Regions from separate parts of the Homo sapiens genome. Here all the other regions are linked to region 5. Evidence: promoter capture Hi-C in 16 types of primary human blood cells and fetal thymus (Javierre and others, 2016). All regions are on one chromosome and are shown on one strand. The core of a region is centred on a gene start or on the middle of the fragment in contact, and the rest is flanking DNA. Distances in the headings are between cores, read along the strand shown. Region 1 overlaps LOC124903482 (a long non-coding RNA gene). Region 2 overlaps LOC107984732 (non-histone chromosomal protein HMG-17-like). Region 3 has its middle 17 kb from the start of SLC28A2-AS1. Region 4 has its middle 5.3 kb from the start of SLC30A4. Region 5 holds the start of AFG2B (AAA ATPase AFG2B).

Region 1 (4,820 bases), core at 1,964-4,463, 66 kb before region 5:
AATAGATGACATTTGAAAAGCATAAATTGGCTTCTCTGCCCACCCTCACCCTTCAACTGTCAGCGTATCCTCATTCTTCTTGGATGCAGGACAAGAGTTCGGGTACGAGTTATAATACAGGTGGGCTGTCTGCTGGGGCGCACCCGGTCCAGCCTCCTCAGGCTGAGCCGGTATGCAAGCCAGACTTGGCTGGGGCAGACCAAGTGGGTGGGGTGCCTCCAGCAGCAGGTAGCATGGCCAACGGAGGTCCAGGCTGGGGAGTGGTACGTCGCTGGCCGGAGATCCCGGCTGGCAAAGTGACCAAGAAAAAAATATTGTGTCAATATCATCTGGAGGTAAGAAAATATTACACATTCACAGACGCATAAAAGTATATCCAGACCCAGATAGAAAGCTTACAGTTTTAATTTTAAAATTTTAACCAGTTATATTTCATCCAAGCAGAAATACAAAAATCACTGAAGCAATTCTCCCCCAATTGAGTACAAATTCTTAATAGATTTGATTCAAAAAATACAAAATAGACAAACAGGAAAAAAGGAACAAACTGCTGTTTTTCACCTTCAGAGACAAGATTTCTATAAACCATTTAATTAGTTAATAAAGTCCACCAAAAAATAAAAATAAAAAACAAAAAGCATAACTTGTTTTTGAAAAAAAGGCATAAATATTTTCAATTGAATTATTTGACTCCAACTTTCTTTTCTGAGATTTTTAGCCTTCTTTGTGTGCTCTTAGATTTTTAGTGAGTCCCTGTTCTAGTTATCTATTGCTGCAAAACAAACCACACTTCTATACCTAGCAACATGAACACAACAATTTTATTATCCTTATGGAATTCAGATAGGGCATGGTGTGGATGTTTTGTCTCTGCTCCATGATTTCCAGGGCCTCAGCTGGGACGACTCAAATGCTGAGGGGTGGCTTGAAAGGCTGGAAATGGAACCATCTGGAGCCTTCTTCACTCACAGATCCGGTGCCTGGGCTGGGATGACATGAAGGCTAGGCTTAGCTGTGGCTGCTGACCACAGAACTTGCATATGGCCTCTCTCTATGGCTTGAGCTTCCTGCAGAATGTTGGCCAGGCTCCAAGAGGGAGCTTCCCAAGAGAGAAGGTTCCCAGAGATCCAGGCAAAAGCTGCATGGCCTTTTATAGCCTAGTCTCAGAAATCACAAAGCATCTCTTCTTCCACACTCTGTTGCAGGGATCAGCAAACTATGGCCCAATGCCAAATCCATCTGCGATGTCTTTTTTTAAAATAAAGTTTTGTCTGGGTGTGATGGCTCACGCCTGTAATCCCAGCACTTTGGGAGGCTGAGGTGGGCAGATTATGAGGTTAGGAGTTCAAGACCAGCCTGGCCAACATGGTGAAACCCTGCCTCTACTAAAAATACAAAAATTAGCTGGGCATGGTGGCGTGTGCCTGTAATCCCAGCTACTCAGGAGGCTGAGGCAGGAGAATCACTTGAACCTGGGAGGCAGAGGTTGCAGTGAGCCGAGATCGCACCACTGCACTTTAGCCTGGGCAACAGAGTGAGACTCCATCTCAAAAACAAGAAATAACAATAAAATAAAAAAATAAAGTTTTATGGGAACATAGCATGTTTAATCATTTATGTACTTTCACACTACAATGGCAGAACGAATTAGTTGCAGTAGAAATCATATAGTTTGCAGTCTAAAATGTTTGCTGTCTGGCTCTTTACAGAAATAGTTTGCAGAGCCCTGCTCTATTGGTTAAAGCAATCACAAGCCTGCTCAGTGCCAAGGGGAAGGAATAGACCCCACCCTTGGTGGGAGGTGTGTCAAAAAATGTGCAGTCATTAAAAAAAAAAAGAATCACCACACTTCCTGTTTGCCTCATATTTTTATTCTTGTTTGGTTTTTTAACTTTGTAAGCTACTTATAAGAGCTCTTCTAACTATTTGAATGTACGCTAAAGTCATTTCGGTTAAGAGAAAGTTAAAAAATGGAAGTCAATTATGTTATTTCAAGTTGTAGTCTTTTGAAACTTCCCAATGTCAGCCCCTTTAGGTAAATATTTGGTTAATAATTCTTCCAAAGAAAGGTTAGAAAGGTTAACTTTTGTTCAGAGTTAAAGGACAAAGAAGACCTTTATTTTAGTTCCTTAAAAAAAAATAGTTCCTTAAAAAAAAGAAAAGAAAGAAAAAAGGGCTGGGCACGGTGGCTCACGCCTGTAATCCCAGCACTTTGGGAGGCTGAGGTGGGCAGATCACGAGGTCAGGAGTTTGAGACCAGCCTGACAGACATGGTGAAACCCCGTCTCTACTAAAAATAGAAAAATTAGCTGGTCAAGGTGGCACGCTCCTGTAATCCCAGCTACTCGGGAGGCTGAGGCAGAAGAATCACTTAAATCCAGGAGGCAGAGGTTGCAGTGAGCTGAAATCAATCCACTGAACTTCAGCCTGGGTGACAGAGCAAGACTCTGTCTCAAAAAAAAAAAAAAAAAAAAAAGTAAATGGTAAATGGTAAACACTTGTTGAAACAGTTAAGCCTCTCACCTGGTCAACAAGTTTCAGGTTATATAAATCATTCCCTATTGATGAACATTTTTATTTAAACATGCTATATTGGTACTATTTTAATTAAATCCCCAATTTCCTCATCTGTACAGTGAAGGAGTTGAGTAGGCAGTGGTTTTTAACTCTGGTTACATATTTAAATCATGGGAGCCGAGACCCCATCCTAGATAATCAAATAAGACCTCTGGAGATGGGGCCACTACAGATTTTAAAACCTCCTCAAATGATTTTAATATACAGCCGGGGCAGAGAAATATGTGGCTAGGTGACTGTAGGCTCTTTCCAGAGGGTGAAATTCTGTGAACGTAAGGGCGATGTGAAAATGGGAAATTTTCCCATATTTGCTGCTTATACTACTAAGAACATTATTTGGAATGACTGTTTGTATGTTTTAATACAGTAACCAGCATGACTTCAACATCTCATGGTCATTTGAACTACCTGAGTTAGCCAGAACCTAAGTCAAATGTTTCAATTTTCACATATCTTTTGATCTACTAATTATTTCTGTCATTCTATACTATACGTTTACTCTGAAATAGACCCTGTGTTTTATTTGTTCGTTAATGAACTGCTACTATGGCATCATTTTCGGTATGACATTGACATGTGTCTGTAAATACGTATTAACATTGTGTTTCTCGAACAAGTGTGCCCTTACATCACTTGGGGAATCTTGTTAAAATTAAAATTCTTATTCAGTAGATCTAGGGTGAGAATCTGGCCTAAGAATCTGCATTTTTTTTCCCTTATCGTTACCTACAGAGGATCTGCATTTCTAACAAGCTCCTAAATTATGTTGATGCTATCTGTCTACCATCCATGCACTACAGCTTGCGCAGCAAGGCATTAACAGATCCATCCAGACTGATGTAACTCAGAACTGCAAGTCAGCCTCAGCATTAATTGAGGAAAAGAATAGGGTCACAGGAAAAAGAAGGGGTGCTAGAGTCATTAAAAATTTTTATGCTTTGCATAATGGCACCTCTTTTTTTATTTTTTAAAAGAAATAACCCATTGAGAAAACTATAGAACTTTGTCACTGGTTCTTTCCATAGGTTTCATCAATTATTTTCTTCAGCCGTGTGACACCTGTCGTCTACAGTATAGGCTCATGCACTGGATATTTCTAAAGGCAGATTTAGCAGCTGAGAGCCCATTTCATTAGTATGATATAGTGGGAAAATGCACTGGACTGGATTTTAGAAGACCTGAGTTCTTGTCTTTATCACTTTTTGATTGTGTGACCTTGGGCAGGTCACTTAATCTCATTGAGCCTCAGTCTTGTCTTTAAAGCTAGGCTAGTAATCCCTGTCTACCATACAAAGTATTAAGAAGAGCAAATAAGATAGCTGTGAAAGTGCTTTGTAAATTACAAAGTTACTTAGACGTGTAAGTTATTATCATTATTGTCCATGTGGTACTGACTGAAGGCCTACGTGTAAAAACACATTGGCTCTTGATGCTGTTAACCCTCAACTTCCTTTATCAGTAGAAGGAGGTTTAGCAAGAATTAGATGATGAATAAGCCACATGGAATCTTTCTCTGTCTGGGTTCAAAGAATGAAAGAATCAAAGAATGAAAAGATGGAGTCTTAAGAGTCAGAGAAAGGCAGGGCTTGGTGGCTTATGCCTGTAATCCCAGCACTTTGAAGAGGCTGAGGCAGGCAGATCATCTGAGGTCAGGAGTTCGAGACCAGCCTGGCCAACATGGCGAAACCCTGTCTCTACTAAAAATACAAAAAAATGAACTGGACATGGTGGCATGAACCTGTAGTCCCAGCTACTCAGGAGGCTGAAGCATAAGAATCGCTTAAACCCAGGAGGTGGAAGTTACAGTGAGCCGAGATTGCACCACTGCACTCCAGCGTGGGTGACAGAGCAAGACTGTCTCAAAAAAAAAAAAAAAAAAAAAAAAGAATCCTGGGGAGAAATGGTTAATTCAAATTTCCTTATTCATGTGTATTATATACTTGACCATTGTTTCCTTTCCAATTCCTTGTCTGGCATTGGAAAACACCAGTGATGTTGATGGGAAGGTCTATGCAACTGCTTGTGAATAAAAGCCAATTTTGAATTAAAAAAAAAAAACAGAAGAAAAAACCAGGTTTCTCTGATCCGTTCACATAACTCAGTGTAGAGGAATAGTTAATACCATGTCTTTCCTTCACTCTGTAGAATGCTTGCTGTAGACTGGTAATTTACTATCATGGTTATTGAGCAAACAAAGAGGCTTGGCTTTCATTACAATAGAGGAAGAAAAATACTGGTGTGGA
Region 2 (4,857 bases), core at 537-3,036, 84 kb before region 5:
TTCTCCTCCGCCGCAACGCCTTGTAACCACTGTTTTACTCTCTATCTCTATATATTTGACTTTAAGAAAAAAGATTCTACATATAAATGAGATCAGGCAATATTTTTCTTTCTGTATCTGGCTTATTTCACTTACATAATGTCCTCTGAAGTCCGTCCATGTTGTGGCAAATGACAGGATCTCCTTTTCAGTGGCTGAATAGTATTGCATTTTATATATATACAGTTTCTTTTTCCATTTATCTCTTGATGACAGTTAGATGTTTCCATATCTTGGCTATTGTGAATGAGCATGCGAGTGCGGATATCTTTATGAGATGGTGAATTCATCTTCTTTGGGAATGTAACCCAGAAGAGGGATTGCTAGGTTGTATGGTAGTTTTGTTTTTTGAGACAGGGTCTCACTTTGGCTGCCCAGGATGGAGTGCAGTGGCGCAATCTTGGCTCACTGCAGCCTCAACCTCTGGGGCTCAGGTGATTCTCCTACCTCAGCCTCCTGAGTAGCTGTGAGTACAGGCACGCACCACCATGCTTGGCTAATTTTTTGTATTTTTAGTAGAGACGGGGTTTTGCATGTTGCCTAGGCTGGTCTCAAACTCCTGGACTCAAGCAATCAGCCAGCTTTAGCTTCCCAAGGTGCTGGGATTGCAGGCATGAGCCACCATGCCTGGCCTTATTTTTAATTTCTTTAGGAACCTCCATACTGTTTTTCATAATGGCTGTACCAATGTACATTTCTACCAACAGTGTACTAGGATTCCCTTTTCCTTTCATCACTTAGCCATTTAGAACCTTGCCAAAAATAAAGAGAATCTCCTGTCTCTGGACTAGGCTTTCAAATGAAATGAAATGGAAAGTAGAGGTGGGGTTTTGCCATGTTGGCCAAGCTGGTCTCAAATTCCTGACCTCAAGTGATCCGCCCACCTTGGCCTCCCAAAGTGCTGGGATTACAGGTGTGAGCCACTGCACCTGACCTCCATCTCAGTTTTCTAACGGAATCATTAAATAGCAAGTAAGCATTAACGAAGAAGAGTGTGACTTCTTACATGTGTTCTGCAAACATTGCACATACTCTTTCCATATTGTAGTACAAACACACGGAGTCTGGGAAGGATCACACAAATCCTATCAAAAATTTCTTAATAATCATTATTTGTTAGCTCCCTTGTCCTACTAAAAGAAAATGAAAACAAATCATTACATGTTAATAACAGAAATTTGCCTAGGGTTTCCCATGACAATCTCCTAAAAAATTTAAAATACAGTTTTAAAAAATATATAGTAAAGAACAAAGAAGAACACAAAATGACCCATAATCTCACTACCCAGATAAGCTCATTGACATTAAAAAAAATAAAGTAATACATTAATGGAAATTCAAATATTCCAATAGCTTTTTAGAAAAAAAGGACACTACATTTAATGCATTGGTGTACGATGTGACCCAATTTTAGAGAATGTGTGTGATGGTGGAAAATGCATCTTTAGAATTGATGAATTATGTTATTTCTTTCCAGACTTTTTTCTTTGTGTATTTTTAATGTAGTTGATATATACATATGTAAAATGTATATACTGTTTCTGCCCTTTTTCACTTAATATTATATAAACATTACATTAGTGCTTTTTAAAATTAATGATTATCTTTTTAATGTAACTTATTTAATTAAATAATATTTAAATATTACATTGTAATTAGCTTAGCCATTTTCCTTTAGTTGTTTCCAGTGTTTGCTCTTATAATTAATATTTTTTCCTAAGTCAAACTGCATCCAGCTTTATTAAAGATACTCTTCATAAACAATTATGATAGTCCAGGCAGGACATGGGCAGACAGTTGTTAACAGTATACAACAACGTTCAAACTTCCTCCTTCCGTGGACCATCAAAATCAGAAAGCCAGTATAAAAACCAATGAAATCTGACTAAAACACCAAAAGCAATGGCAACAAAAGCCAAAATAGACAAATGGGATCTAATTAAACTAAAGAGCTTCTGCGGGGCAAAAGAAACTACCATCAGAGTGAACAGGCAACCTACAGAATGGGAGAAAATTTTTGCAATCTACCCATCTGACAAAGGGCTAATATCAAGAATCTACAAAGAACTTAATCAAATTTACAAGAAAAATACAAACAACCCCATCAAAAAGTGGGCAAGGGATATGAACAGACACTTCTCAAAAGAAGACATTTATGCAGCCAACACACACATGAAAAAATACTCATCATCACTGGTCATCAGAGAAATGCAAATCAAAACCAAAATGAGATACCATCTCATGCCAGTTAGAATGGCAATCACTAAAAAGTCAGGAAACAACAGATGCTGGAGAGGGATGTGGAGAAATAGGAATATTTTTACACTGTTGGTGGGAGTGTAAATTAGGTCAACCATTGTGGAAGACAGTGTGGCGATTCCTCAAGGATCTAGAACTAGAAACACCGTTTGACCCAGCCATCCCATTACTGGGTATATACCCAAAGGATTATAAATCATTCCACTATAAAGACACATGCACACATATGTTTATTACAGCATTATTCACCATAGCAAATACTTGGCACCAACCCAAATGTCCATCAATGATAGACTGGATTAAGGAAATGTGGCACATATATACCATGGAATACTATACTGCCATAAAAAAAGATGAGTTCATGTCCTTTGTGGGGACATGGATGAAGCTGGAAACCATCATTCTCAGCAAACTATCACAAGGACAGAAAACCAAATACCGCATGTTCTCACTCATAGGTGGGAATTGAACAATGAGAACACTTGGACACAGGGCAGAGAACATCAGACACCGGGGCCTGTTGGGGGCTGGGGGGCTGGGGGAGGGATAGCATTAGGAGAAATACCTAATGTGAACGATGAGTTGATGGGTGCAGCAAACCAACATGGCACATGTATACCTAGGTAACAAACCTGCATGTTGTGCACATGAACCCTAGAACTTAAAGTATATACGTATAAAAAAAACCTATTGAAATCTTTATCTGATGTTCTGAGTAGGGAAAGTTTCAAGCGACGGTTGGCACTCCACGTTTAGCATGTTGTTTAACACATTTTTACAAGGAGACCCTGACTTTCAGGAAATGAAATTACAATGGCAGAATTTATCTGAAGATTCACAATCTACAAATGGAACTGCCACTTTTTCAACGGAGACCATCTCAGTGGCATCGCTGGAAAGTCCAGATTGCCTGACACACTGGTAACCAACTATTGGAGGTCAGGTCCCAACAGGTGTCTGCGTTTAAAGGAGTTAAGTCAATGCTGAAGGCAGAAAGAGAGAAAAGGACATAAAAGTTAATTTTGGTTTTACCACACCTCCAGGGTGTTTGTGCTACGGTGGCTATGTGTGTCAACATCAATAAATCCCTTCTCCTAGGAGCTGAGAGGAAGTCTCTCAAAACTAGAAGGGAAAGGTGTTTTCCCAACGTCAATCAATCCAGATTCAGAGACATTCTATTAGTGACATATGCCCCTCCCACCCACAAAAAAAAAGCGTTCTGTGTACTAACAACATAACTTTAAAAAAAGTAAAATAGGATTCTGCATTTTTATAAAACAATAAAAAAATAGCATTGAAACTTCCTTTGCAAAAATTGTAACAGTGAGAGAAATCTCACCTGACTCCAACTTGCTTCTAACCTCACATGCTAACTGCCTTTGCTCATTCCTGGACATAGGCCAAGCTAACTATGGGAGGAATTTAGTTTATAGTTTTGTTTTGCTTTGTTGTTGTTGTTGTTGTTTAAACAGAGTCTCATTCTGTCACCCAGTCTGGAGTGCAGTGGCGCCATCACAGCTCACTGCAGCCTCAAGTTCCTGGGCTCAAGTGATCCTCCCACCTCAGTCTCCCAAGTAGCTGAGACTCAGGCATGTGCCAACACACCCAGCTAATTTTTAAATTTTTTGTAGAGATGGGGTCTCACTATGTTGTCTAGGCTGGTCTTGAACTCCTGGGCTTAAGTGATCTACCCACCTCGATCTCCCAAAGTTCTGGGATTACAGACATGAACTACTCCACCCAGCCAGCCTATAGTTTAACTTTGAAGCAAGGATAATAATAGTCCCTCTCCAAACTGACCCCATCTGGGGAGTTAAACTGCCTTTGTAAGGCTAATGAAAGGCCACAAGGTTAAGATTATGGGGAGGACCTGAATTCTGCTAAAATGTGGGCATAGTTAAACAATAACCAGCTGTTGTTCCCTAGCTTGGTTTTTCTATAATTCTTTCCAGTTCAGAGGTGATGAAGCTAGAGATCACAAGATCTGTAACTTCCTCAGTTACTCCTATAGATAATTTACTATCGTGGAACCCGAAATTGGTCTTTGAGATGTTTTTCAGACTTTTGCATTCTGGCAACTAACTGAGTCCACCTGGACCCATGACTCATACCAAGGAACTAACTGAACCAGTCCTGTGACTCCCCACTCAGAGACTGACTCAACAAATAAAGACTGTTTTGGACACACCTGTGATTACATCTTCAACTAATCAGCAGCACTCATTCCCTAACCCCTGCCTGCCAAATTATCCTTAAAAACCCTAGCTTCCAAGCTTTCAGGGAGATGGATTTGAGAAATGTTTCCTGTCTGCCCACTCAGCTGCCTTGCAATAATTGAACTCTTTCCCTACTGCAACACTGCTGTTTCAGCATATGGGCTTTTCTGTGCAGCAGGCAAGAATAATCCATTGGGATGTAACAGTATTTCAAACTGTACAGTCACCAGAAGTACAGATTTATCAAAAATGCATACACTTCACTTGGCATCTCCAGCACCTTCAGCTTTCTGTGCCTTCTCCGTTCTGGCATCTCCATTTTCTGCAGGTTTATTCACCTCTT
Region 3 (4,719 bases), core at 1,204-3,703, 110 kb before region 5:
TCGGCAGGCTGAGGCAGGAGAATCAGGCAGGGAGGTTGCAGTGAGCCGAGATGGCAGCAGTACAGTCCAGCTTCGGCTCGGCATCAGAGGGAGACCGTGGAAAGAGAGGGAGAGGGAGACCGTGGGGAGAGGGAGAGGCAGAGGGAGAGGGAGAGGCAGAGGGAGAGGCAGAGAGGCAGAGAGGCAGAGAGGCAGAGAGGCAGAGGCAGAGGCAGAGGCAGAGCTATTTTTTTATTTTTTTGAGACAAAGTCTCGCTCTGTCACCAAGGCTGGAGTGCAGTGGCATGGTCTTTGCTCACTGCAACCTCCCGCTCGTCTTCATATGTAAACCTTATGGCATTGTCCTCTTCTGGTTCTCCTCCTACTTCTCCGACTGCTCTTTTAAGTGTCTTCTGGCTGCCCCTTCCATATGACTCTCCTGAGCAGGATGGTCGTAGAGTGTGGAAGCCTAGCTCCTCTTGCTCAAAAGTCCATTGAAATAATGAATAAAGTACACATACAGAGGAAAATAATTTATTGCTACAGAAAACCAAGGTTGAAATCATATATAAACTAGAAATCTGGGGGGATTTCTTCCAGCAGTAATGATGGGCCAGGATTGAAAAGAGCCAGTGAGGGCGCGTACCACCCTCCTTCTTGAGCAAGGACAACTTATCTAGAAAGTAAGTGGCAAAACTCCCTGGCCGACCCCACTGCCACTCTCTAACTCAGAGAGGCAAGGACAGTGTTACTCTGGCAGAGAGGAGGGTGAGGTGTGTTGAGGGGCCTGCTGAGAGGCCCACCACAAGAAGTACCTTCTGAGTAGCTAACTCAATTTTTAAGATGAAAGCCCATGAAATAAATAAAACTGCAAAGCATAAACTTGATTTTGACAAAGCCTGGGGAGTGATTCCCTGACAGGGGTAGAATTGAAGGAAGTGGTTTTTACTGCACACTTTACAGAACTTCTTATTGGTGTAATGTGGGGTATGAAAGGGAAAATAAATTTTTGTTCATGAAGTCATTGCTGAAGGCTTTCCCTAGCTGCTTAGCTTACTAATACGGTCTCATTGCTTTGTATCATTCTGAACCACCATGCATTCCATTCCCTTTTCATTGTAGCACTTCTCTAGAGGGCACCATCTTTTGCCAGTCCCTAGGTGGAAAAGACTTTGGAGTTTAAGCATACCACCATGCGTAAGACTGGTCCATTTCCTCAGCATTCCTCATTCAGGCTACCTTTTTGTTGGCAAAGCTAGTGACTTCCCATTCTACAATCAATTCACCAATATCTCTAATAGAAAATGTTAATGTTTGGTTTTGGTTCGCTGTATCCTAACAATGAAAACTTCCTCAACAATATTTAAAATTGTCTGTGGATCCTACCTGAATTAGGTTTGAAATAATAAACATTACCATGTCAAATAAAATCTTAACATTTTAATTCCTCATAGTCATTCTATAAATTGTATGACGTAATGTGGTATAGCAAAGAATAGCACTTGTGGAGAAAAACTCTATTTCTAGACATTTTGAGGGTGAGCTGAAATTCTTGCAACTACAGAATCATTTGAAAGGAGTGTATAAACTTAATGGACAGTCCCCCCACTCCCACATTTACACAGCTGTTACATATCTCTTTAACTATTAATATTGAAACAAAAATACTTTCTATTTACAAACTTCTGGGGTATCCTGCTCTTTAAAATTCTTCACTATGGTTTAGTATTAAATAGTCATGTCTTTTTCCTTATTTATTTTTTATTTTTTTGAGATGGAGTTTTGCTCTTGTTACCCAAGCTGGAGTGCAATGGCACGATCTTGGCTCACCACAACCTCTGCCTCCCAGGTTCAAGCGATTCTCCTGCTTCAGCCTCCTGAGTAGCTGGGATTACAGGTATGTGCCACCATGCCTGGCTAATTTTGTATTTTTAGTAGAGATGGTGTTTCTCCTTGTTAGTCAGGCTGGTCTTGAACTCCCGACCACAGGTGATCCACCTGCCTTGGCCTCCCAAAGTGCTGGGATTACAGGTGTGAGCCACTGCACCAAGCCATCTTTTTCCATTTTAATAAGAGATCATTTAATAATTTTTCTATTAATAATTTTTCTATTAATATTTTAGCAAATAAATTTTAAAAATGATTTCAAAAGAATACTCACATCCTCTATGTTTACTCAGTCTGTTTTGCATTATTGTAAAGGAATACCTGAGGTAATTTATAAGGAGAAGAGGTTTATTTGGCCCACTGTTCTGCAGGCTGTACAAGAAGCATGGTACCAGCATCTACTTCCGGCCAGGACCTCAGGAGGCTTCCAACCATGCTGGAGGTGAAAGGGGAGCAGGCGTGTCACATGGTGAGGGAGGGAACAAGAGAGGGGACAGGAGTGCCATGCTCTTTTAAACAATCAGCTCTCCTGTGAGCTAATAGAGAACTCACTCATTACAGTGAGGATGACGCCAATTTGGTCATGAGGAATCCACCTTCCTGACTCAAACGTCTCCCACCAGGCCCCAACTCTAACACTGGAGATCAATTTCAATATGAGATTTGGAGAGAACAAATATCCAAACTATATCACCACTTCATCATTCAACCCACCAAGCTCAGAGAACACAGCACCAAAACAAAAAAAAACCCTTTGATCCTCTTCCTCATCCTTCTCCCCCATCTCCCATGTCTTTGAAACCTGACTCAAAGAAAGAGGGAAGCCTCAGTAATTTGCTTCTTGAATTATAGCCATGTTCATCCTAGGCTTCCGGAGACAGTGGTTATAGTGGGTTTGCAGCACACTCACTGGAGCCAGACTGATATGGTTTGGATCTGTTCCCCACCCAGATCTCATCTTGAATTGTATTCCCATAATTCCCACATGTTGTGGGAGGGACCCAGTGGGAGATAAGTGGAATCATGGGAGCAGTTTCTCCCATAATGTTCTCATGGTAGTGAATAAGTCTCATGAGATCTGATGGTTTTATCAGGGGTTTCCGCTTTTGCATCTTCCTCATTTTCTCTTGCCACCACCATGTAAGAAGTGCCTTTTGCCTCCCACCATGATTCTGAGGCCTTGCCAGCCTTGTGGAAATGTAAGTCCAATTAAACCTCTTTTTCTTCCCAGTCTTGGGTATGTCTTTATCAGCAGCGTGAAAATGGACTAATACAGTAAATTGGTACCAGTTGAGTGGGGTGTTGTTGAAAAGATACCCAAAAATGTGGAAGCGACTTTGGAACTGGGTAATAGCCAGAGGTTGGAACAGTTTGGAGGGCTCAAAGAAGACAGGAAAAATGTGAGAAAGTTTGGAACGTCCTAGAGATGTGTTGAATGACTTTGACAAAAATGCTGATAGTGATATGAACAATAAGGTCCAGGCTAAGGTGGTCTCAGATAGAGATGAGGAACTCGTTGGGAACTGGAGCAAATGTGACTCTTGTTATGTTTTAGCAAAGGGACTGGTGGCATTTTGCCTCTGCCCTAGGGATATGTGGAACTTTGAACTTGAGAGAGATGATTTAGGGCATCTAGTGGAAGAAATTTCTAAGCAGCAAAGCATTCAAGATGTGACTTGGGTGCTGTTAAAGGCATTCAGTTTTAAAAGGGAAGCAGAGCATAAAAGTTCAGGAAATTTGCAGCCTGACAGTGCGATAGAAAAGAATCCTAGCTGGGCGCGGCAACTCACACCTGTAATCCCAGCACTTTGGGAGGCTGAGGTGGGCAGATCCCTTGAGGTCAGGAATTCTAGACTACCCTGGCCAACATGGTGAAACCCCGTCTCTACTAAAAATACAAAAATTAGCCAGGCATGGTGGCTCACACCTGTAATCCCAGCTACTCAGGAGGCTGAGGCAAGAGAATCACTTGAACCCAGGAGATGGAGGTGGCAGTAAGCCAAGATTGCACCATTGCACTCCAGGCTGGGCAACAGAGTGAGACTCCATCAAAAAAAAAAAAAAAAAGAAAGAAAATCCCATTTTCTGAGGAGGAATTCAAGCAGATATTTGTAAATTCAAGCAGATATTTGCATAAGTAATGAGGAGTCAAATGTTAATCCCCAAGATGATGGGGAAAATGTCTCCAGAGCATGTCAGAGACCTTTGCAGCAGCCTCTCCCATCAAAGACCCAGAGGTCTAGGAGGAAAAAATGGTTTTATGGGCAGGGCCCAGGGTCCCTGTGCTGTGTGCAGTCTATGGACTTGGTGCCCTGCATCCCAGCTGCTCCAGCCATGGCTGAAAAGGGCCAACATAGAGCTCAGGCCGTGGCTTCAGAGGGTGCAAGCCCCAAGCCTTGGCAGCTTCCATGTGGTGTTGAGCCTGCAGGTGCACAGAAGTGAAGAATTGGGGTTTGGGAACCTCTGACTAGATTTCAGAAGATGTATGGAAATGACTGGATGCCCAGGCAGAAGTCTGCTGCAGGGGTGGGGCCCTCATGGAGAACCTCTGCTAGGGCAGCACAGAAGGGAAATGTGGGGTTGGAGCCCCCACAGAGTCCCTACTGGGTCACCACATAGTGGAGCTGTGAGAAGACGTCCACCATCCTCCAGACCCCAGAATAGTAGATCCACTGACAACTTGCACTGTGCTCCTGGAAAAACCACAGACACTCAATGCTGGCCCATGAAATCAGCCAGGAGGGAGGCTGTACCCTGCAAAATCACAGGGATGAAGCAGCCCAAAACCATGGGAACCCACCTCTTACATCAGTGTGACCTGGATGTGAGACCTGGAGTCAAAGGAGATCATTT
Region 4 (5,459 bases), core at 808-3,307, 130 kb after region 5:
AATCTTCCAATAGAAGGCTGTTTCCCCTGTATTGAAAATCTGTTGTTTATTGTAGTCACCTTTAATGATCTTAGCTACACCTTGTGGACAACTTGTTGCAGTTTCTCCATCAGCATTTGCTGCTGCTTCTTGCACTTTTATGTTATGGAGATTGCTTTTTTCCTTAAATCTCATGAACCGACCTCTGCTAGCTTCAAACTTTTCTTTTTTGTTAAAAAAATTATTTAATTTATTTATTTTTAAATAGAGACAGGGTCTCACTATGTTGCCCAGGCTGGTCTGGGTATTTCTAATTTCCTTCAAGAACCTTCCCATTTCCCAGAGTCAAGTGATAAAAGTTTAATACAAACAAACAAACAAACCCAAACAATAAAAAAGAACTTTTCATTTGCATTCACAACCTGGGTAAGAAAAGGCATAGTGCAGGGCATGGTGGCTCACGCCTGTAATCCCAACACTTTGGAAGCCTGAGGCAGGCGGATCACCTGAGGTCAGGAGTTCGACACCAGCCTGGTCAACATGGTGGACCTCTACCATAGTAGAGACAACCCTGTCTCTACTAAAAATACAAAAATTAGCTGGGTGTGGTGGCATGTGCCGAGTAGCTCCCAGCTGCTTGGGAGGCTGAGGCAGGAGAATCGCTTGAAGCTGGGAAGCGGAGGTTGCAGTGAGCCTCGCACCATTACACTCCAGCCTAGACGACAGAGCAAGACTCCGTCTCAAAAAAAAAAAAAAAAAAAGAAGAGGCATAGCTTTCAGCCTATCTCAGCTTTCTTTCTTTTTTCTTTCCTTCCTTCCCTTCCCTCCCTTCCCTTCCCCCCTCCTTTCCCCTTCCTTCCTTCCCCTTCCCCCCTCCTTTCCCCTTCCTTCCTTCCCCTTCCCCCCTCCTTTCCCCTTCCTTCCTTCCCCTTCCCTCCTCCTTTCCCCTTCCTTCCTTCCTTGCCTGCCTCCCTCCCTCCTTCCTTCCTTCCTTTCTTCCTTCCTTCTTTTCGTCCTTCCTTCCTTCTTTCCTTTTTTTGGAGTGCACAGGCACAATCATGGCTCACTGAAACCTCTACTGCTCAGGCTCAGGCAATTCTCCCACCTCAGCCTCCCAGAGTGTTAGGATTATAGGCGTGAGCCACCATGCCCATCCTTATCTCAGCTTTCCATATGCCTTTCTCACTATGGTTAATAATTTCTAGCTTTTGATTTAAAGTGAGAGATATACAACTCTTCCTTTCACTTAAACACTTAGAGGTCATTGTAGGGTTATTAACTGGCCCAATTTTAATATTGTGTCTCGTAATAGGGAGGGCCAAGGAGAGGGAGAGTGAAGGGGGACGGCTGGTCAATGGAGCAGTCAAAACATATACAACATTTATCAGTTAAGTTTGTCATCTTATATGGACAAGGTTCGTGATGTCCCCAAATAATTACAATAGTAATATCAAAGATCACTGATCACAGATCAGTATATCAGATATAATAATAATGACAAGGTTTGAAATATTAAGAGAATTACCAAAAGGTGACACAGAGACATGAAGTGAGCCCAGGCTATTGGAAAAATGACGGCGACAGATTTGCTTGACACAGGGTTGCCATAAACCTTCAATTTGCAAAACTGGCAATATCTAACAAGTGCGAGAAAGTGAAGCACAATAAAACAAGGTGTGCCTATAGAGGTGTCCTTTTGGCTATTGGGTCTGTTTCACAAAAAAAACAAAAAACAGCCAGATGCAGTAGCTCATACCTGTAATCTCAACACTTTGGGAAGCCAAGGGGAGAGGATCTCTTGAGGTCAGAAGTTTAAGACCAGCATGGGCAACATATTGAGACCCCGTCTCTCCAAAAAATTTTTTTAAAGCCTCCAAGGAATTGGCGGTTGCAGTGAGCTATGATTGTGCCAGTGTACTCCAGCCTGGGTAATAGAGGGAGACCCCATCTTTAAAAATCAAAACAAAACAAAACCAAAAAAAGAGGAAGAAGAAATAATTGTGGCTTTTTTGTTTTTTGTTTTTTTGAGACAGGGTCTCGTTCTGTTGCCAAGGCTGGAGCGCAGCGGTGCGATCTCGGCTCACTGCAGCCTTGACCTCCTGGGCTTAATCTATCCTCCTGCCTCAGCCTTTTGACTAGCTGGGACCATAGGTGCTTGTCATCATGCCCGGCTAATTTTTGTATTTTTTTCCTTGTAGAGATGGTTTTTTGCCATGTTGCCCAGGCAGGCCTTGAACTCCTGGGCTTAAGTGATCCTCCTGCCTCAACCTCCTGTAAGTGCTGGGATTACAGGTGTGAGCCACCATGCCCAGCCAATATTTAAATTCTGTAGTAGCTTCTGATTTAAACCTAAATTATAATATCACAATGGAATGGCAATATGCACCCCTAGCAAAATCTTACAGTTTTGTTTTTTTTTTTTCTTTGAGACAGGGTCTTGCTCTGTCACTCAGGCTGGAGTGCAGTAGTGTGATCTCGGCTCACTGCAACCTCTGCCTACCTGGTTCAAACAATTCTCATGCCTCAGCCACCCGAGTAACTGTGATTACACACAAGCACCACCATGCCTGGCTAATTTTTCTATTTTTATTGTTATTATTTATTATTATTATTATTTTTTGAGATGGAGTTTTGCTCTTGTTGCCCAGGCTGGAGTGCAGTGGTACGATCTCTGCTCACTGCAATCTCCGCCTCCAGGGTTCAAGCAATTCTCCTGCCTCAGCCTCCTGGGTACCTGAGATTACAGGCACCTGCCACCACCCCCAGTTAATTTTTTGTATTTTTAGTAGAGACTGTGTTTCCTCATATTGGCCAGGCTGGTCTCGAACTCCTGACCTCAGGTGATCCACCTGCCTCGGCCTCCCAACGTGTTGGGATTACAGGCGTGAGCCACCGCGCCCAGCCTAATTGTTCTATTTTTAGTAGAGACGAGGTTTCACTATGTTGGCCAGGCAGATCTCAAACTCCTGGCCTCAAGTGATCCACCCACTTCAGCCTCCCAAAGTGCTGGGATTACAGGCATGAGCTACCACACCTGGCTGTTTTAGAGATTCTTAATCTAGATTTTCTGAGTGGGTTTTAGGGAGTTTGGGAGGCCTTAAACTTATGTGCAAAATTTTGAGGACATGTATATTTTCTGGGATAAGTCTTTTAGCTTTCATCGTATTCTCAAATTGGATTGACTCAAATTAGGTTAAAAACAACAACATTGTCAGGAGAGCTCATCTTAAAGGTCCAGCCCCTAGCTTCTACTTGAGTTGAATTGTAGGGCAAACTCCTATTTATCCAGCGTTTTTTTTTTGAGACCGAGTCTCACTCTGTTGCCCAGGCTGGAGTGCAGTGGCGCGATCTCAGCTCACTGCAAGCTCCGCCTCCTGGGTTCACGCCATTCTCCTGCCTCAGCCTCCCCAGCAGCTGGGACTACAAGCGCACGCCGCCACGCCCAGCTAATTTTTTGTATTTTTAGTAGAGACGCGGTTTCACCGTGTTAGCCAGGATGGTCCCGATTTCCTGACCTCGTGATCCGCCCACCTCGGCCTCCCAAAGTGCTGGGATTACAGGCGTGAGCCACCGCGCCCGGCCTATCCAGTGTTTATGAATGTTGTATTTTTATAACAGTCCCCATGTATTACCAAATTTCAAGTTACAAAAAATACAATAAAAAGTCACATGAAACGTCATTTTCCTCTGAAGATTGAAATGGCACTTTAGAATCTTGTATGCCTCAGATGCAAGAAATCAACTCCTTTAAATATGACTCCTCGGATTTAAATGCCCATCATATTTCTACAGAGCTGCAGCCACGGGAATCAAGGTAGGAAACCTAGATCAGAGATTCCATGTTCCCTAGACCAGGAAGGGAAAACTATTTCCTGGTTAACCAGGGCACTCTGGTAATAATCAGCTGAAAGGAGAGATCTTACTGGGGGTTGCTTTCCTAACTCCAAATATTTTAATCCACCGGGTTTGGGAGTAGGTTTTTTTGTAGTTGTTTTGAATTTCACTTTGTTATACTGTCTGAAATTCTACTAATGAGAGATACAAACGGATAAAGAAAATATTTTAGGAGTGTGATCATTTTCTCTTTAGTATAAATCCTTCAAAGAAGATTCCATTTAAAGAAATTGGATAAATGTTTTTAAGAAAAGTTAAGGAAAGAGCGTGAATTGTTTTGGGTACTTACAGCAAGCTTTGTTGAATAGGGCTGCAGTTCTGCCTCCCAGTTTGTTTTTATTATTTTTCTCACTGGGTACCTGGAGAAAGTGATGGGAGGACAACAAAAACTCTATATGGTGATTTTAAAGTATATCCACAAATTCTGTGATACTCTACTTATCAAGAGGTGGAGCTTAATTTCCTTCCTATTGAGCGTGGACTGCACTAAATGAGTTGCATGTGGCCTGTAATGAATATGGCAGAAGTGACTCTGTGTGACTTATAAGACTAGGTCATAAAAGGTATTGCAGCTGCCTCCTCATCCTCACACTTGGATCGCTTGCACTAGGAGGAGCCAGCTACTGTGTCATGAGGAACTCAAGTGGCCCTGTGGAAAGGCGTGTGTGATGAGGAACTGAGGCCTCTTGCCAACAGCCATGTGAGTGAACCATTTTGGAAGTGGACCCTGTAGTCCCAGCTAAGCCTTCAGATAACTATAGACTGGGCAGTGCTAACTAAAACCTGGAGAAATCCAGAGCCAGAACCACCCAGCTAAGCCATTCTCAGATGACCCACAGAGACTGCATGAGATAAGAAATGTTTGTTTTAAGATGGCAAGTTTTGGGATACTTCGTTACACAGCAATAGATAACTAATATGTTATGTATCAGTTTTCCTGCATACCAGGAAAGACACTTTTCTTATTCCTTTATCACATGGGCTCTTATTCCTCAGCCTGCCCTCAGACTAGTGGCATGATTTCTATCACTGAGCTTCAAAATGGGCTAAATACATAGACTTCTGCAAATAGGCTTGGAATGTAACTACAATTTGCAACCTTATTTCTACGCACTCGGAGTTTATAATAATAGACAAATGAACTTTTGAAACAGTGCACACTTATAATCTCGGTACTGCCTGCAATTCTGTTTGCTAGCTATTGCTCAGTATGCCATTCTTTTTTAAGAGACTTCATACGTTTTTCTAGTCTGAAGAATTTATTTATTTTTTATTTTAGTGAGACAGGGTGGAGGGGCAGGTCTCACTATGTTGCCCAGGCTGGTCTTGAACTCCTGGGCTGAAGTGATCCTCCTGTCTCAGCCTCCCAAGTGCTGGGATTACAGGCACGAGCCACCAAGCCCAGCCTGAATAACTTCTTGCATGGCAGATGGAAAAGGCTGCCAACCATTTAGCTAGTCTCTCAACCAGGCAACTCGTAATATGCAGATTTAGGCAATAGCAGAAGCCTGTCAACTGAATTGCAAGACACATACCTTGGGGCAGTTGAAAGGGATGGGCATAAAATTTCCTATGTCAAAATTTGT
Region 5 (4,655 bases), core at 552-3,051:
GGTCAGAGGGTTCTTGTTTGACCTTGTATAAAATCAACCTCTTAGACCAACCAAAAGCAACATGTAGTTTCCTTCTCATCATATTCCTAATAGCATAGTTTGTGCCTCTGTTTTAAACCAATTCAGAAAATTTTGAGGCCGATTTAACTTTATTGGCTCCCTGTTTTGGCTTTGGTTATTCCACTCCATTAAACCTTTACTTCTTGGCCATTTCTGCACTGTAAATATAAGTAAATCTACTAACTCTTTTACATGAGATCCCTTTACATATTTAAGACAGTTATCCTGTCCTCAGTAAGTCTTCTTTCCCTCTCCCAGATCCTTAAAGCTTCTTGGAGCTGAATAGAAGGAACTCGATGAGGTACAGGCTTCTGATAAAATAACTTGATAGGCATGTAATTCACACCTTTAGGGGTCGGTAAAAACGATGGCTTTTTTTTTATTTCAAAAAATGCAAAGCTGTTATTTAAAAGTCCCCAAACCAAAAAGAACTGAAGCCAATGGGATTAAGAGGAAAAAAGAAAACAGGAAGTAATGGGTGACTTATCCATTTCAAGACCTCCTCCTGCTATTTTCTGATTCCTAAATTGTTCCAGAATCGATTTAAGCAGACAAGTACAGCTGAGACCAGGTAAGTTACTGTCAAGTCAAGAAGTCTGTCATGTCTGCCATGAAGTTTGGACAGAATGAGATCAGGAACTGGCATGGGTCTTAAGATCCCAGATCTGACAGTACTTCCCATTGATAAGATATTACTACACAGTCTGTAATTGATTATTTGCATAGATAGAAAAAAAAAACTTCCCAGCAACTTAAGCACTCTAAAATATCAGTTTTGTCAACTCACAAATTTGGGTTGCAGTGAAAGTGGGGAAAATAGAGGTAGGAAGATGTAAGTCAAATAAAAACAAGGTATATCTTCTTGTCTTTGAGTATCTGTAGTTCTTTTTTAACGGCAATTAAGAGGGATAGAAAATGTATTCCAGCTGATAAAAAGGAATTCCCTGTGCGAAAGGGAAAGGCAGAAAGCAGCTGGAAAAAAAAAATAGCAGGCAGTTGTCTTAATAACGTAGATAGGTATCGCCTCTAATACAGGACTTAGTACTGTTGTGCCCCAATTAGACAGTAAGCATTGATCGCATGAACTTTAGTGATTAACTTGTTGCCAAAGAATATTCAAAAGAATATCAGAAATCAGAACAAATGTACTGTTGGTGTGCTACAAATCCATCAGGTAGCCTAGTTTTCCTTCTTTCCTCTCTACAAGGGATTTTAAGCGCTACCGTGTGCTTCCCTCCCACTATGCTGGTACTTTCCCATAGGAAGGGTTGTGCCTGGACCTCCCAGATTGGAACCCCGATTACCGAAGGTCCCAAGGCTGTATTCTCAGTTACGCCAAGTCACCTGAGACATTTGCACCAGAGCACCCAAAATTCTGTGCCCATGCGGATAGTTAGAGTTTCTTCACAAAATAGCAAAGTCTCTAGGTTGCTATTCCAACGGCGGTAGTACTGATGCTCCAGTTCGAAGGCCAGGAAAACAGAATGTAAAGCCGGTGACTTCCAAGATATATGTAACCACCAAAGTACATGCTTAATGACCTAGTGAAGTGAGCTTAAGCCGCCTCCCAGACACCTGTAACGAAGACCATCTCGGGAAAGCTCTGGGTTAGGCAACTCGATTTCACGAAAGCGGACACCAACGCTCTACCCAGAGGCCCGAGCGTCGTCTAACGTTTCCATTGGCCCTTTCGGCCTTCACTCAGCTGCTAGCAACGCAGTCTGCCCTAGCGCATGCGCGCAATCTGCTTCCGGCCTGCGAGCTCGGTGTTCCGCTTTTTGTGGGCCGGGTGGGTTTCCTAATCTGGTTTCGTCTGCCTGGTTCATCTGTGTGCGATGGCTCCGGACTCGGATCCCTTCCCTGAAGGGCCGCTCTTAAAGCTGCTACCCTTAGACGCTAGAGACCGGGGCACCCAGCGCTGCCGCCTGGGCCCGGCCGCCCTCCACGCCCTGGGCGCGCGCTTGGGCTCGGCAGTGAAGATCTCGCTACCCGACGGCGGCTCCTGCCTCTGCACTGCCTGGCCTCGGCGGGACGGAGCGGACGGCTTTGTGCAGCTGGACCCGCTGTGCGCGAGCCCCGGGGCGGCGGTCGGGGCGTCGAGATCCCGGAGGAGTCTCAGCCTGAATCGCCTCCTCCTAGTGCCCTGTCCGCCCCTGCGGCGCGTCGCCGTGTGGCCGGTGTTGCGAGAGCGGGCAGGCGCGCCCGGTGCCCGGAATACAGCCGCGGTGCTGGAGGCGGCACAGGAGCTGCTGAGAAACCGACCGATCTCCCTGGGCCACGTGGTGGTCGCTCCGCCAGGCGCTCCTGGCCTGGTGGCTGCCTTGCACATCGTCGGCGGGACGCCCAGTCCCGATCCCGCTGGGCTGGTCACCCCTCGTACCCGCGTCAGCCTTGGCGGGGAGCCTCCGTCGGAAGCCCAGCCGCAGCCCGAGGTGCCCCTGGGAGGTCTTTCGGAGGCGGCCGACTCGCTGCGGGAGCTCCTCCGCCTCCCGCTCCGCTACCCGCGCGCCCTGACCGCGCTGGGCTTAGCGGTGCCTCGCGGGGTGCTCCTGGCGGGGCCCCCCGGAGTGGGCAAGACCCAGCTGGTGCGGGCCGTGGCGCGCGAGGCGGGCGCGGAGCTGCTGGCAGTCAGCGCCCCGGCGCTGCAGGGTTCCCGGCCTGGGGAGACCGAGGAGAACGTGCGGCGGGTCTTCCAGCGCGCCCGGGAACTGGCCAGCCGCGGACCCAGCCTCCTCTTCCTGGACGAGATGGACGCCTTGTGTCCCCAGCGGGGCAGTCGAGCACCCGAGAGCCGCGTAGTGGCCCAGGTGTTGACGCTGCTGGACGGCGCCAGTGGGGACCGCGAGGTCGTGGTTGTGGGAGCCACTAACCGGCCGGACGCTCTAGACCCAGCGCTGCGTAGGCCCGGGAGATTTGACCGAGAGGTGAATGGGCTTGGCGGGTTTGCCCACTGTCGGTGGAACCTCGGCCGCTTCTGGCGCCATTTGGCTGCCCCGGAGGCGTTTGCCTCTTAGGTTTGAGCATCGGTGAGGTTGGAGTTGGGGCTCTTTGCAATGCAGAGAACACGTTCTCTGCCGATATATGATCTGTGAGTCAGGACCTGTATTTCCCCAGAGTCAAATTGTCAGGACCTGTGAGTCAGGATCTGAGAGTCAGGACCTGTTTCCCCAGAGTCTAATTGTTTTGGGAAGCGAGGTGTCCATTACAGATTAATTTTGTTGTGCAGGTCCTATAATCAGTAATGTTAATTCTTAAGAGAATTTTGGTCACCTACAAGCGTGTTAAACTCATTTTTTGGAATGAGAATTTAAAGAAGGATAGCCTCAAGAAGTAAGTGTGTTGAAATAAAAAGGGAGAAGGTGGGGAAGAACTAAATGGAAGCAGGCATTAACTCTTCTGGATTTATTCATTCCTTGTCATAACACCAGCATCCTATTCCACAATTGAGGAGGTACCCACAACTGCTCCCTGAGTTGTCAGGGAGGTTGAATATTCAGAGCTGTCCTATTTTAAGCTTTGGTCCTAAATTGACTTGAATTCTAAAGAACAGTTTGAAATTTAGTGACTGATATTTCTATTTTGTGATAGGATTCAAAAGAGAAATGATAATTACACACTTTTAGCTCAGTTAGTTCAGGACTTGAGTGGATTTCTTCCTTGCACTATCTAGTACCTGTGTCCTTAAGGGCAGGGACCTAGCTATCTATACCTGGCTTCTAGAACTTTGTGTGTTCTTAAAAATAACAAAAACTTGTTAAATGACATAGAATTTTCATTGTGCAACTTTCTAGCCAGTGTTACTCCTCTGGAATATTAGGATTTTCGTATATTCAGAATCTAAAGTATACGTAAAGTGCACGGTACTAGTTCCAAAGTGGTTCACTAAATTGTCGTACATGTTTGTCAGGATAAAAAACATATTATTATTTTGGCCGGGCGCGGTGGCTCACGCCTGCAATCTCAATACTTTGGGAGGCTGAGGTGGGTGGATCACCTGAGGTCAGGAGTTCGAGACCAGCCTGGCCAAGATGGTGAAACCCCGTCTCTGCTAAAAATACAAAAAATAAGCCGGGCATGGTGGCACATGCCTGTAGTTCTAGCTACTCTGGAGGCTGAGGCACCAGAATCACTTGAACCAGGAGGTGGAGGTTGCAGTGAGCTGAGATGGTGCCCGCTGCACTCCAGACTGGGCAGCAGAGTGAAACTGTGTCTCAAAAAAAAAAAAAAAAGAAAAAAAAAATATATATATGTATACACACACATATATAAAATTTTTTTGGAAGTAATTCTTTTTTAATTGATCTATTTTTATTGATACATAATTGTGCATGTTTTGGGGTACATGTGATATTTTGGTACATGCATACAATTTGTAATTATCAAATCAGGGTGCTTAGGATATCCATCACCTCAAACATTTATCATTTCTTATCTGAGTGTTGGGAATATTTCAGATTCTCTCTAGTAGCTATTTTGAAATATACGAGAAATTATTGTTAACTATAGTCACCCTACTACACTATCAAACATTACACATATTCCTTCTACCTAACTGTATGTTTGTACCCATGAGCCAACCTGTCTTCATCCCCTCA

The links. Contacts are between HindIII fragments. The CHiCAGO score rates a contact against its expected background, and 5 or more counts as called.
Region 1: a contact is called between a fragment that was not itself captured here and the fragment with the promoter of AFG2B in region 5, in 1 of 17 cell types (M2 macrophages). The highest score is 6.4, in M2 macrophages.
Region 2: a contact is called between a fragment that was not itself captured here and the fragment with the promoter of AFG2B in region 5, in 4 of 17 cell types (M2 macrophages, M0 macrophages, M1 macrophages and 1 more). The highest score is 11.1, in M2 macrophages.
Region 3: a contact is called between a fragment that was not itself captured here and the fragment with the promoter of AFG2B in region 5, in 7 of 17 cell types (M2 macrophages, M0 macrophages, M1 macrophages and 4 more). The highest score is 13.9, in M2 macrophages.
Region 4: a contact is called between a fragment that was not itself captured here and the fragment with the promoter of AFG2B in region 5, in 1 of 17 cell types (naive B cells). The highest score is 5.4, in naive B cells.

The regions. Positions count from the first base shown.
Region 1 is chr15:45,332,675-45,337,494 of GRCh38, forward strand. LOC124903482 (a long non-coding RNA gene) reads left to right here. Exons shown (of 3, transcript XR_007064609.1): 1 at 1-102. Among named protein-coding and RNA genes, the nearest start is that of GATM, 43 kb to the right of the region's middle. The HindIII fragment of the contact is 5,643 bases long and covers 393-4,820 here.
Region 2 is chr15:45,316,340-45,321,196 of GRCh38, forward strand. It overlaps LOC107984732 (non-histone chromosomal protein HMG-17-like), which reads right to left. Exons shown (of 1, transcript XM_047433406.1): 1 at 4,015-4,857. The coding sequence ends at 4,775. Among named protein-coding and RNA genes, the nearest start is that of SLC28A2-AS1, 40 kb to the left of the region's middle. The HindIII fragment of the contact is 5,565 bases long and covers 1-4,569 here.
Region 3 is chr15:45,293,842-45,298,560 of GRCh38, forward strand. No RefSeq gene overlaps it. Among named protein-coding and RNA genes, the nearest start is that of SLC28A2-AS1, 17 kb to the left of the region's middle. The HindIII fragment of the contact is 8,488 bases long and covers 1-4,719 here.
Region 4 is chr15:45,525,305-45,530,763 of GRCh38, forward strand. It overlaps the pseudogene HMGN2P46. Among named protein-coding and RNA genes, the nearest start is that of SLC30A4, 5.3 kb to the left of the region's middle. The HindIII fragment of the contact is 4,217 bases long and covers 1-4,166 here.
Region 5 is chr15:45,400,535-45,405,189 of GRCh38, forward strand. It overlaps AFG2B (AAA ATPase AFG2B), which reads left to right and starts at 1,802. Exons shown (of 8, transcript NM_024063.3): 1 at 1,802-2,984. The coding sequence starts at 1,896. It also overlaps a transcript of GATM not described here. RefSeq lists enhancers at 1,255-1,304, 1,315-1,384, 1,775-1,934 and silencers at 2,015-2,094, 2,485-2,634. The HindIII fragment of the contact is 3,246 bases long and covers 327-3,572 here.